Linked DNA regions of Homo sapiens: region 1 is linked to region 2. Evidence: promoter capture Hi-C in 16 types of primary human blood cells and fetal thymus (Javierre and others, 2016). All regions are on one chromosome and are shown on one strand. The core of a region is centred on a gene start or on the middle of the fragment in contact, and the rest is flanking DNA. Distances in the headings are between cores, read along the strand shown. Region 1 holds the start of UNK (unk zinc finger). Region 2 holds the start of GGA3 (golgi associated, gamma adaptin ear containing, ARF binding protein 3).

Region 1 (6,543 bases), core at 120-2,619, 520 kb after region 2:
ACCAAGTAACTTGCGTTTAATCATAGGATTAAAGCAATATACTACAACTTTTATTTGTCCTTTTGTAATTTTTCATTTTCAAACGCCCCTAGTGGCTAAACGATTTAGCCTGTTTAGGAAAAACCAGTTTCTCAACTCTGTGATGTGGCTTCTGATGTGAGGGAACTTGGAGCTAAATAAAATAAGTATGTGTCACTCAAACATTAACGATTTTCCATTAGCCCCACCACCCTTCATCCCTAAGGTTATTTGGAATGTGTTTCTTTAATGAGATAATCATTTGTTAATATAATCCCATCTAAGAAAATATAAATCAAAACCAGTGGATTTGAAATAGATTCAATATGAAAAACCAAATTAAATGACAACGGTTAAAATATCTACGGAGAACATTCTAAAACTCACAGAAACAAATGCCTAGGTCTGGGGCATCTGGCTTATTTTATAAAGTGAAGAACTTTGCTTGACTGGTGGGAAGCAGAGAGGGGAAAGATAATGTCCCAAGTAAAAAGGCTGACGTCCAGACAAGAAAACTAGAGTGGATAAATACGGGCACGCCCTACTCAAACCCAGGCCTTTCCTCTGGACCCTGTGATGCTTCTCAACACTGGCAACTTGTCAGTGTACCTCAGAGACTATTCTAGGCGGAGATTAAATTCGTCCTTGGCCCTTAATGTACTGGAAACAAGTTGGTCAGGCCAGGTGTCAGGCTGAGAAAGCACACAAGTCGTGGAGTTCCAGGTGTCGAGTTTGGCAAAGGTAAATGAAGCGCCTCGGCAAAGGCGCGGGAACTGTAGCGTGCGGTGTACCTCCTCCTTAGCAAAGCTTTCTCAATGCCTCTTAGGTTAGACCCGCCGCAGGGATGAAGGGGTTGCTGGCGGATTGCAGGTGCCTGCAGCACAGGGCCCAGAACTAAGAACCGACAACACAGATTCTTAAGCCCTGCTTGGAGCACTGCTCTGAGCTGGCATTAGAACCGAACCTAGCTGTACTAAGTATAAAGGCAAAGTAGTTATGACACTGTTGGCAGTGAAATTATACTTGGAACTCTTTCGCAGAAATCGCTAGGGCCTCCCTAGCTCTGGGCCCCTTCTCCTCCAGGCGCTCCAGTTTCATGGAAAGGCTTCCCTATGAAACTGAAAACGCGCTGGTAAGAAGGAGAAATGCGACCGGACTGCAATTCCCAGAAGCCGTCGCAGGCCCTCAGCATCCGGGACACTAGCAGCAAGGATCCCTGGGTATTGTGGTCCTGTGCTTTGCCAGCAACCCTCTGCCGACGGTAAAATTCCAGCCGGACATAGAACCACAACTCCCAGCAACCCCTGCTGCCGTGTGGGGGGTCTTCACGTTCTCGTGGCGCGGCGCAGGCGCACTGGGTCCTCGGCGCGGACCGCGCAGACTGAATAATAAAAGGGGAGCGGCGAAGAGGCAGGAAGACAAGACCATGTCGAAGGGCCCCGGGCCCGGCGGCTCCGCAGCTTCCTCGGCGCCCCCGGCCGCTACCGCTCAGGTGCTGCAGGCACAGCCCGAGAAACCGCAGCACTACACGTACGTAGAGCCCCCCCCCCCCCGCCGCGCGCGCACGCCTGACGTCAGCGGCCAGCGTGAGTCACGCGCGCAGGGAGAGCGCGAGGCGGCCTCTTCCTCCCCCCCTTCCTCCTCCGGCCCGGCCCAGACCGGTTCCAACCTGCTGGGGCCGGTCCCAACTGCCTCCAACTGCCACCAACCTCTGGTCGGGCTGTGGGGCGGGAAACTCGGTCCCGGCCGCCGAGTGGGGAAGGCGGGAGCTCGGGATGCAGAGTGCACTCTCCCTAGGCCAGGCCTTCGAGGCCTAACTGTTCCTCAGACCATAAAACCACAGTAGTAGGCTCCTTTGGGGCAGTGAGAAGTCCAAGACACAACCAAGAGGAGTTCCGTGGGGTCCAGCCCCAGAACCCACCTATGAATGATGATTAACGTGAAGTCCTGTCAGGAGATTCCGTGCAGTTTGCGCAGGAAGCCTTTTGTGTCCCTAAGGCTCGTAGGTTGTCCACGAGGGCCACACTTGCTTGAATTCACAGTCGACGTAGATAAACATGCAAAGATGGAAACGTGTCCGTGCGTGCCCATGACCGTTTCCCTCGCGGGCTGTGCGGAGCCTGAGTCTGGGAGCCCGAAGGTGATGGGTTCCAAGTATGTCTGCAGGCTCAGCAGAAATGTAGCATTAGAGGGAGCCCCAAATACTGACACTACAGGAGTCCAGCAGGATGGGAAAACCTCTTCCTGGAAGTCTTGCATCTGTGTGCTTTTAGGTCGCTGTCTTCATTTCCTTCAAGCCACGTTAAGCATTCCCTAGAGTTAGGTGATGTGGGAGAAAGATGAATAAGGGGCGGTTTCTCCTGTTAAGCAAAATGTTGCTTTCCATTTTCCCTGATGCTCTGTGAATGCCTCTCATCCCCATGGGCTCCTGAGTGATGTGCATGTTTAAAAGGATCCCCAGCTGCGAGAGGTTTTGGAACCTGGGGGGTTGAACAGCTCTTAAGTTGTTCAGTGAACGAAGAACAGAATCATCTGTTGGAGTAGAAAGAACTCAAACCAGTCAGGAGGAACTCTTGTTATAGAAGACCTTGGGAAACTGTTCTGGGGTTGGGGAACATTGGTTATAGGAAGTGTATGGTTTCTTTGTGGGATTCTTTGTTGTTGGCTGAAATCATTTAAGCTTCTTGACTACAGTCTGACTCACGTTAACCATTCCTTTTCTGATATGGACATTGCTTTCCTGGTCCTTTCTTACTGGAGATCTTTCGCAGTCTTTCCATTGATTTTGGTGAGATGTTCTTAGCTCAAAGACTACTGATGAGTTGAATGGTGTAGTCTTGATTTTCGAATCTGGAAACTTCACGTAATTGGAACTTCTTTATAATCTCTGGTTGCTCAGATCACTGTTTTTAGCAAAATAAACACATTTTGAGTCACGAGAGTCTTGGCTTCAGCAACTTGTGTTTCTGTGTTGTGTTGTCATTGAGCATACTATGGAATCTGTAATAGAAAGGCTTTCTTATTTTGGAATTGACAGGTGAAACAAGTGAACAGCTGATTAAATGTCAGTATCTGAGTCTTTGTCCTCTTGATGCTCATTTGTTTAAAACCTGTCTTTCCTGCCGGGCGTGGTAGCTCTCACGCCTGTAATCACAGCATTTTGGGAGGCCGAGGCGGATCGCATGAGGTCAGGAGTGAAGAGACCAGCCTGCCCAATATGGCAAAACCCCGTCTCTACTAAAAATACAAAAAATTAGCTGGGTGTGCTGGCGGGCGCCTGTAATCCCAGCTACTCAGGAGGCTGAGGCAGGAGAATCGCTTGAACCCGGGAGGCGGAGGTGGCAGTGAGCCGAGATCGTGCCACTGCACTCCAGCCTGAGCGACAAGAGCAAAACTCCGTCTCAAAAAACAGAAACAAAAACAAAAAAAAAGCCTGCCTTTCCATTCCTTGTGGGTAAGTATAGAGTAATGGGACCTGGCTCTTGAGGTGTCTTAGGAAATCAACAGGAGTAGGTGAAATAGCCAAGCTTGATGGGAGGTTGTAGGTGTTCTTATCTCTTTGTCTGTTCATATGTATGTGTGTTTTTATATTTGTATTTCCAAAAATCAGAGATAGAAATCAGTGGTCTTTCTTGCTAGACTTACTAGCATTCAGAAGCTGTGATGACCTGGAAAACTTCATCCCCTAGTCCTCCTAGGGCTGAGGTGCAGGGAGCATGAGGACACATATGATGGAACCAGCACACTTGCTGGCTCTGATTTTTCTTTTTCTTTTTTTTAAGATAGGGTCTCTGTCATCCAGGCTATAGTGCAGTGTCACCATCTCAGCTCACTGTAGCCTCGACCTCCCTGGCTCAAGTGATCCTCCCACCTCAGTCTCCTGAGTAGCTGGGACTACAGGCACACCTGGATACATTTTTTTGGTATTTTTTGTAGAGACGTGATTTTGCCATGTTGCCCAGCCTAGTCTCGAACTCCTGTGATCGAGCAGGCGCAAGCAATCTACTGTTGGGCCTTGGCCTCCCAAAGTGCTGGGAGGCCACCACACCCAGCTTTTTTTTTTTTTTTCCTCTTCTTAAAAGAGACATGGGCAGGGTGCGGTTGCTCACACCTGTAATCCCAGCACTTTGGGAGCCTGAGGTGGGTGGATCACTTGAGGTCAGGAGTTCGAGACCAACCTGGCCAACATGGAAACCCCGTCTCTACTAAAAATACAAAAAATTAGTCAGGCCTGGTGGCACACACCTGCAGTCCCAGCTACTCAGGAGGCTGAGGCAGGAGAATCGCTTGAACCCAGGAGGCAGAGGTTGCAGTGAGCAGAGATTGTGCCACTGCACTCCAACCTGGGTGACAGAGTGAGACTCGGTCCAAAAAAAAAAAAAAAGAGAGACGTGATCTCTCTGTGTTAACCAGGTGGACTTGAATTCCTGGGCTCAAGCAGTCCTGCCTTAGCCTCCTGAGTAGCTGGGACTACAGGCACATACCACCATACCTGCTTCCCTCCACCCCCATAAGGTGAATTCATTTATTGCCCTTGGGAGTTAGGGGGCGGGAGCATTTTGATTTTGATTTTAAATGAAAATTTGAGCTGCTTGGGAGGTAAACAGTGGGTACACATGGACATACGGAGTGGAATAATAATTGATCATTGATAATAATTGATCCCATTTTGAATACAGAGATAGACCCCTTTTGAATATTTGTAAGTTTTTGCCTGTCAATTTTTTCTTTTTTTTTTTTTTGGAGACAAAGTCTCACTCTGTTGCCCAAGCTGGAGTGCAGTGGCGTGATCTCAGTTTACTGCAACCTCCACCTCCCGGGTTTAAGCAATTCTCCTGCTTCAGCTTCCTAAGTAGCTGGGACTGCAGGCACACGCCACCATGGCTGGCTAATTTTTGTATTTTTAGTAGAGACAGGGTTTCACTGTGTTGGCCAGGCTGATCTCGAACTCCTAACCTCGTGATCCGCCCACCTTGGCCTCCCAAACTGCTGGGATTACAGGCGTGAGCCACTGTTCCCGTCTGCCTGTCAAATTTTTTACCTTTTTAAACTTTTATTTATTTATTTAGTTGTATTTTTAGTAGAGATGGGGTTTCACCATGTTGGTCAGGCTGGTCTTGAACTCCTGACCTCGTGATCTGCCCGCCTCGGCCTCCCAAAGTGCTGGGATTACAGGTGTGAGCCACCGCGCCCAGCCACTTTTATTTTTATTTTTAATTTTTTTTTTAAATTTATTTTTGTCACCCAGGTTGGTTGGACAGAGCAAGAGACAGGATCTTGCTCTGTCACCCAGGCTGGTGTACAGTGGCATGGGAAGGCGTGAGCCTGAGAAGGTGTGAGCCACCTCACCTGGACTTTCTTATACATTAATTAATTTTGTATAGTTTTATACCTGATGTTATTTGAAATTAGGTAACATGCTGTAGTCTTTGCAATAATCCAGAGACACTTGTGTGATAATTGAGTCTCACTCACCATAACAGTAATCTTGGCAAACACAGTTGAATACACTAAAAGCAAAAAATTATGTTGCCATTGGTTTCCCTTTCTTGCCCTTCATTCTTGTGCTGAAATTAAAGTTCTTAGAGTTTGAGCCCTCCTTTTCCTAAACCAAGAGGATTATTCATAACATAGTTTAAAGGATAATTTTGTTGATTTTTTTTTTCTAAACTCTTGAATAATCTTGCTTTAAGGGAAACTTTGGAATAATCCTTTCAGCAAATTGGTGTAGCAGGCACTTGTGCTGGACTTAGGAATCCAGTCCTTTTAGAAAACAGTTATGTCAGAAGTTCCTTTATTGTACAGCTCCAAGTATTTGCTTAGCACTTAGTAAAACGATAATGTATATGTATTATTATTCTTCCAATACAAGAACCACATGACCTCTTTTTTTTTTTCTGAGACCGAGTCTCGCTCTGTTGCCCTTGGCTGGAGTGCAGTGGCGCGATCTCGGCTCACTGCAAGCTCCGCCTCCTGGGTTCACGGCATTCTTCTGCCTCAGCCTCCCCAGTAGCTGGGAGTACAGGCGCCCGCCACCATGCCCAGCTAATTCTTTGTATTTTTAGTAGAGATGGGGTTTCACTGTGTTAGCCAGGATGGTCTCGATCTCCTGAACTCGTGATCTGCCCGTCTCGGCCTCCCAAAGTGCTGGGATTACAGGCATGAACCACTGCGCCTGGCCTGTGACCTCCTTTTACTAGACAGTTTGTCTTTTAATTTGACAAATAATGAATTTAATTCAGCTTTGTTTATAACATACTGTCTTGTATATTGGAAGAGTTTTATAAAAACGTTTAAGAATGAGGAGAACTTTTGTAGCAATCACGTCTCAAAATGTATCTACAAGTTTAGCTACCTTTTGGCTTTTTGCTGTATTAACAGTTATACTATTGAAAGTGTATAGCTGAGCAGGGCGTAGTAGCTCACATCTGTAATCCCAGCACTTTGGGAGGCTGAGGTGGGCGGATCATGAGGTCAGGAGTTCGAGACCAGCCTGGCCAACGTGGTAAAACCCCCGTCTCTACT
Region 2 (6,015 bases), core at 863-3,362:
GAACATCAGACTGAGTAGAGCAGGAAAACGTAGAAGCCACAGAGAAAAAGGCCTGGAACAACCAAGGCCAGATTACAGGCAACAGTGGAATGATTTGATTCAACACAAGTGCGCTTCTGGGAGCAGAATGGACTGAGGAGAGGTGAGGACGGGAGAGACCTGGGTCTCTGGGCCAAGCAGAGGCTTCTGCAACAATTCAGGCAAACGTGGGGTGACAAGGACGCTGACTGAGACGATGCTGAACCCCAACTGCTGGTTTGTTCAACTGGTACAGTTCACATTAAGTCGTAACAACTGTGAAGCTTATGTCTCTACAGATACCATGTGACTCCCCCCCACCAAGTGTGTCCCTCTCATTTCATAATGTGACTCTAGGCTGGGTGCGGTAGCTCACGTGTGTAATCCCAGCGCTTTGTAAGGGAAAGGTGGGAGGATCACTTGAACTCGAGTTTGAGACCATCCTGGGCAACACAGCAAGACCTCATCTCTACTAAAAATCAAAAGAATTAGCCAAGCATGGTGGCGTGTGCCTATAGTCCCAGCTACTCAGGAGGCTGAGGTAGAAGACTTATTTGAGCACAGGGGTTCAAGGCTGCAGTGAGCTATGATCGCACCCCTGCACTCCAGCCTAGACAACAGCGCGCGAGACTCTGTCTCAAAAACAAGTAACAAAAACAAAATGTAACTCTAAATGTAGCCTATTAAACTCAGCTTAGGTCATTTAAATTATTCAATACCCATATTAATACCTTCAAAGCAAACTAATTCCACTCTGGTTATAGCAAGTTGGGCATTTCTGGGCAAGTGGTTTGACTGGAGTCAGGATGTCCTCTTTTTGTGAAATTATGGCAGTAGTGCCTGCTTTGCTAGAATACTTGGTAAACTAATTTAATGAATATCTGTAAAGTACTTTGAGCTCCTTGGAGAACACTTCCATATATAAAGAAGCCTTATGACCTGCCTGCAACTGCAGATTTTGCAAACGTGATCTTACTTTTTCTCTCTTTTGGGATATGCTCCCCTTTAAACTGAAGCTCAACCTCCTGAAGGGGGTTTCTTACTAGGAAAAATCAGACAATTTGAGGAAATAGCTATCACCTCCAAGATCCCGGAAGCAGTACTAAATAAGAGACCTCAGAACAAGGCAATACTAGGTATCTCACCTATCCCATTACCAGTCCAATTTCTCTCTCCACTTAAAGGAGGCTTCCAGGTCTAGCCTACAGGAAAGTTCACTTATTAACCCTCAGGCAGAGTACTACCTGCTAACCAGGTTAACACACATTTCCTTCGTAGCACTGTAATTCACAGTGCAATGACAGCAATACGCTTCTATAACTACAGCTTCAGACTGTGCTCCTCAGCCTTACTCAGAATAGGCTATCAACACTGACTCGTTAGGATATTCAAGGGGGTATATGTATGTGTGTGGGGGGGGAATTCCCGACACCGATTTCACCATGCTTCTGTGGTCACTGCAGGAAAAAGGTAGAGCTCTCTGTTCTCTATCATCGCTCTCTTTGGAATATTATTCTCACTTCAAGCATTCTGCCTGAGCGAAGCCGTCACTTCTCCAACACATGGTCACAATTCTGAAGCTGCCAGGCGACTGAACGCAGTCGGCAGCACCCACCACTACCGGAGACTCAGCCCCAATCCGAAGCTTCTCCCTTAGTCAGGGATTGGGGCGCTGGGTTCCTGGTGTCACCGCCGGGCGGCGACCCCACCACAATCTCCCCAAAGCGCCGAAGCATGTCAGCCCGAAGATCTTGGCTGTCGCCTTTCCCCGAGCCTGCGGTGCCCGACAGGAGCCCGAGTTCACGCCGCCGCGCGCCAGAGCAAGAGGACGCGCCGCAGCGAGGGAAGCGGGGGCCGGACTGGGGCCCGGCGCCCTGATAGGGAAGGGGCGTGATCGCAGGCTGCTCGCGGCGAGGGCGAGACCGGGCGTGGGCTGCCAAGAGGCGACGCCGTGGAGCCCGGGGAGGGGACGTGGGGGTGAAGACAGGGGCAGCCCAGCGGCTCGAGGGCAGGCAGAAACGGCCGCGGCTACTCACTGAGCCAGGACTCCAGGCTTTCCCCTTCCGCCTCCGCCATATTGCAGCCGCCCGGCCCCGCGGCTTCAAAACTCGCGAGAGTCTGCACGAGCTGAGACGGGGCGGGGCCTGCATGGGGTCCTGAGAGGAGTGAGTGCCGTCACCGAGGGCCGCGCCAGACTGCGACGGATACAGGGAGGGCAAGGGTTTCCTTTTGGCGCTCCCCTTTGGACCCCGGAGTGAAAAACTCTAACGTCCAGATCAGTGGAGAGAAACGCAGATTTAGGACCCTGAGGAGTCTTTTTCACCCGTTTCCCGTCACTCGCTCAGGCGCGCCGAGGGCAGTCCTTGTGGGGTCCTCGTGGCCAGCCAAGATGGCTGCCCCCGCAGTGAAGGTTGCCCGAGGATGGTCGGGCCTGGCGTTGGGCGTGCGGCGGGCTGTCTTGCAGCTTCCAGGGTGAGAGGGTGGCGAGCAGCGGCGGGGGGGCGCTGCGAGGAAGGAAGGGGGCCACAGGCAGGCCGCGTGGGCCCCTAGAGAGAGCATTGCCCTGGGGGCCGGAGTATCTGGATTCAAGCTTCTAAGTTAGCTGCGTGACCCTGCGCCAATCCGAAGGTTTAGTGACTACCTCTCGCCTAAGGAGTCTGGCTGATCTAGGGTTCTAACGCGGAGCTGAAAGTGCGGTTCAGCTAAAGAGCTCAGATCTGGGATCGCCTGTGAATTGGGATGGGTGTGTAGGCGCCAAGCCCATCCTTACCGTTAGCACTTGACCAGGAGGAGACTTTACCCGCCTGCTTGGGGAATGTCCTCCTACTTGGGACAAGGGCCTGAATTGTTGTGGCTCAGGTTTAGCTCGCGGTCTCCGCGCCGCTCCCCCTCGTCGGCGCGTTGGCAGTCATGCCTATTGTTAAGTCAAACCTACTCGCTTGTGGAGTCAGCTTTTGCCTGCCTCCTCCTTTCCCCCCCTCCCAGGCTAACTCAGGTGAGATGGAGCCGCTATAGTCCTGAATTCAAGGATCCCTTGATTGACAAGGAATATTATCGCAAGCCAGTGGAGGAGCTAACTGAGGAGGAGAAATATGTTCGGGAGCTCAAGAAGACTCAGCTCATCAAAGCTGCTCCAGCAGGGAAAACAAGTTCTGTGTTTGAAGACCCAGTCATCAGGTTAGATGGAAACAAACACTTGTTACATGGACTGGGACTATCCCAGGGAGGGTTTCTGGTGAGGATTCTGTGATACAGCCTTGGAGAGCTAAACGTGTTGCTTTTCTCTTTGAAGTAAATTCACCAACATGATGATGATAGGAGGAAACAAAGTACTGGCCAGATCCCTCATGATTCAGGTAAACAGCACTTCCCTCCTCAGTCATCTTTCTTGCCCCCCTACCCCGTAGCCTTGTACTTGGTACTTTCAGTGTAGCTTAAGAGCAAATGGATTCATGTATCTATTATTCAGATTAACTTCCCTGCATGTGTACGGGCTTTAATGAAGCCCTGTAAGAGTCAGCAACTGCCATTCCTTGGTGTTTCGGAAGTAAACACACAATTAAAAAAAAAGGAACAAATAAAAAATAAAACAACTGCCATTCCCCACCTCACCCCCCACCCCCTCCATGCCACAAATCTCAATCCACTCTTTCTGTCCTAGTCTAGCAAAGGGGGAGGCACTTAAAAACTTTGTTTTGGATGTGCTGTGAGAGGAGCTGCATTGCCAGCGCAGAACCAGAGGATGGGAGTAAAGGGCAAGGTACTAGCTTGGCTGGGTAAACCCTTTAGGGAGCCTGGGGCAGCCTCTTCCACCATATTCTTTTGCAGACTCTGGAAGCTGTGAAAAGGAAGCAGTTTGAGAAGTACCATGCCGCTTCTGCAGAGGAACAGGCAACCATCGAACGCAACCCCTACACCATCTTCCATCAAGCACTGAAAAACTGTGAGCCTATGATTGGGCTGGTACCCATCCTCAAGGGAGGCCGTTTCTACCAGGTGAATGAATGGCCAGGGCAAGAAAGCAGGGCCCTCCACATGTGAAACAAGATAGGTGGTGCTTGGGAGTTGGGTCAAGATTGATAGCTTTCTAGCTGGTGCAGTGGGATTGCACCTGTAATCTCAGCACTTTGGGAGCCTAATGCAGGATAGCTTGAGCTCAGGAGTTAAGAGACAGCAGGGCAACATAGGGAGATCCCGTCTCTACAAAAAAAACAAAAAAATTAGCCAGGTGTGGTGGTGTGCATCTGTGCTCCCAACTACTCAGGAGGCTGAGGTAGGAGGATCACTTGAGTCCAGGAGGTCAAGGCTGCAGTGAGTTATGATTACGCCCCTGCATTCCAGCCTGGGCAAGAGAGAGAAACCTTGTCTCAGAAAAAAAAAAAAAAAAAACGGCTGGGCACGGTGGCTCACACCTGTAATCCCAGCACTTTGGGAGGCCGAGGTGGATGGATTACCTGAGGTGGGGAGTTCGAGATCAACAAGGAGAAACCCTGTTTCTACTAACAATACAAAATTAGCCAGGTGTGGTGGCACATACCAGTAGTCCCAGCTACTTGGGAGGCTGAAGCAGGAGAATCGCTTGAACCCAGGATGCAGAGGTTGCAGTGAGCCGAGAGCACACCACCGCACTCCAGCCTGGCAACAGAGCAAGACGCCATCTCAAAAAAAAAAAAAAAAAAAGAATTGAGACTGTTACGGTCCACTCATCTGAGTCCTGTAGCGTAAAAATTATAGGCAGAAGGTGGAAGAGAGTGAAGAAGTATCTAAGTGACATCTGGGAGCCCACCTCCCTTCGCCTTCTTCTGTCAAGCATCCTGTGTGTCCTAACCTGTAAAATTCTCATGGCGAGGGACTATTCATATCCTGTCTTTGTATGCCAGTGTTTGGCATAGTGCTTGACCGATAACTGATGCTTCATCAGTGTTTGCTGAACAGTACTAGGTATCTCTTTCATAGCATTTAATTATATTTTATTGTCCTGAGTTTTCTTGTGTTCTCCTTTTTCAATATCAACTCCATGGGGTAGGGACTTCATTATTGTCTGCACTCTCGTGTCTGGCATGGTACTGACGCATAGTGAGGGCCTGACAAATGATTTTTGGACACGGGGTCTTGTTTTTGGTTTTCTTTAACTGTTTGTATAGGGTCTTTTTGTTTTTAACTTTTTTTTTTTTTTTTGAGATGGAGTTTCGCTTTTGTTGCCCAGACTGGAGTGCAGTGCTGTAATCTCAGCTCTCGGCTCACTGCAGCCTCCGCCTCCCGGGTTCAAGAGATTCTCCTGTCTCAGTCCCTGCCCACCCCAAGTAGCTGGGATTACAGGTGGCCGCCACCATGCCCAGCTAATTTTTTTGTATTTTTAGTAGAGACAGGGTTTTGCTGTGTCTGAAGACTGAAGGGGTCTTGTTTTTAGGTACCTATGGTCTGAGGTGGATTAGTCACCCCAGCTAATGGGGCTTTTCCTATTTGGTTCTTATAACAACTTGGTAGGACTACCATTTAGGAGGGAAAATGGCCAGTGCTTTTCTTCTTTTTCTTTTTCTTTTTTTTTGAGACGAAGTCTCGCTCTGTTGCCCAGGCTGGAGTGCAGTGGTGCATTCTTGGCTCACTGCAACCTCCGTCTCCTGGGTTCAAGCATTTCTACCTCAGCCTCCCAAGTAGCTGGGATTACAGGCGCCTGCCACCACGCCCAGCTAATTTTTGCATTTTAGTAGAGACGAGGTTTCACCACATTGGCCAGGCTGGTGTCGAAATCCTGACCTCAGGTAATCCACCTGCCTCAGCCTCCCAAAGTGCTGGAATTACAGGCGTGAACCATCGTGCCTGGCCTTCTTTTTTTTTTAATATATGGAGACAGGGTCTTGTTATATTGACGAGGCTGGTCTTGAACTCCTGGGCTCAAGCGATCCTCCTGCCTCAGCCTCCCAAAGTGCTGGGATTACAGGTGTGAACCACAGTGCCGGGAGAGGCCAGTGCTTAATTAGTATTTGCTGAATGAAC

Evidence for each region. Contacts are between HindIII fragments. The CHiCAGO score rates a contact against its expected background, and 5 or more counts as called.
Region 1: the fragment with the promoter of UNK here is called in contact with the fragment with the promoter of GGA3 in region 2 in 7 of 17 cell types (fetal thymus, total B cells, naive CD4 T cells and 4 more); the score reaches 10.1 in fetal thymus.

The regions. Positions count from the first base shown.
Region 1 is chr17:75,783,437-75,789,979 of GRCh38, forward strand. UNK (unk zinc finger) reads left to right here and starts at 1,370. Exons shown (of 16, transcript NM_001080419.3): 1 at 1,370-1,548. The coding sequence starts at 1,445. MIR4738 (microRNA 4738) reads right to left here and starts at 1,171; the gene lies at 1,085-1,171. RefSeq lists a silencer at 1,432-1,571 and enhancers at 1,464-2,042, 1,632-2,031, 2,043-2,620. The HindIII fragment of the contact is 1,873 bases long and covers 824-2,696 here.
Region 2 is chr17:75,259,494-75,265,508 of GRCh38, forward strand. GGA3 (golgi associated, gamma adaptin ear containing, ARF binding protein 3) reads right to left here and starts at 2,113. Exons shown (of 17, transcript NM_138619.4): 1 at 2,055-2,113. The coding sequence starts at 2,094. MRPS7 (mitochondrial ribosomal protein S7) reads left to right here and starts at 2,386. Exons shown (of 5, transcript NM_015971.4): 1 at 2,386-2,490; 2 at 3,004-3,195; 3 at 3,311-3,374; 4 at 3,847-4,014. The coding sequence starts at 2,408. RefSeq lists enhancers at 1,519-1,618, 2,089-2,498, 2,295-3,172. The HindIII fragment of the contact is 945 bases long and covers 1,662-2,606 here.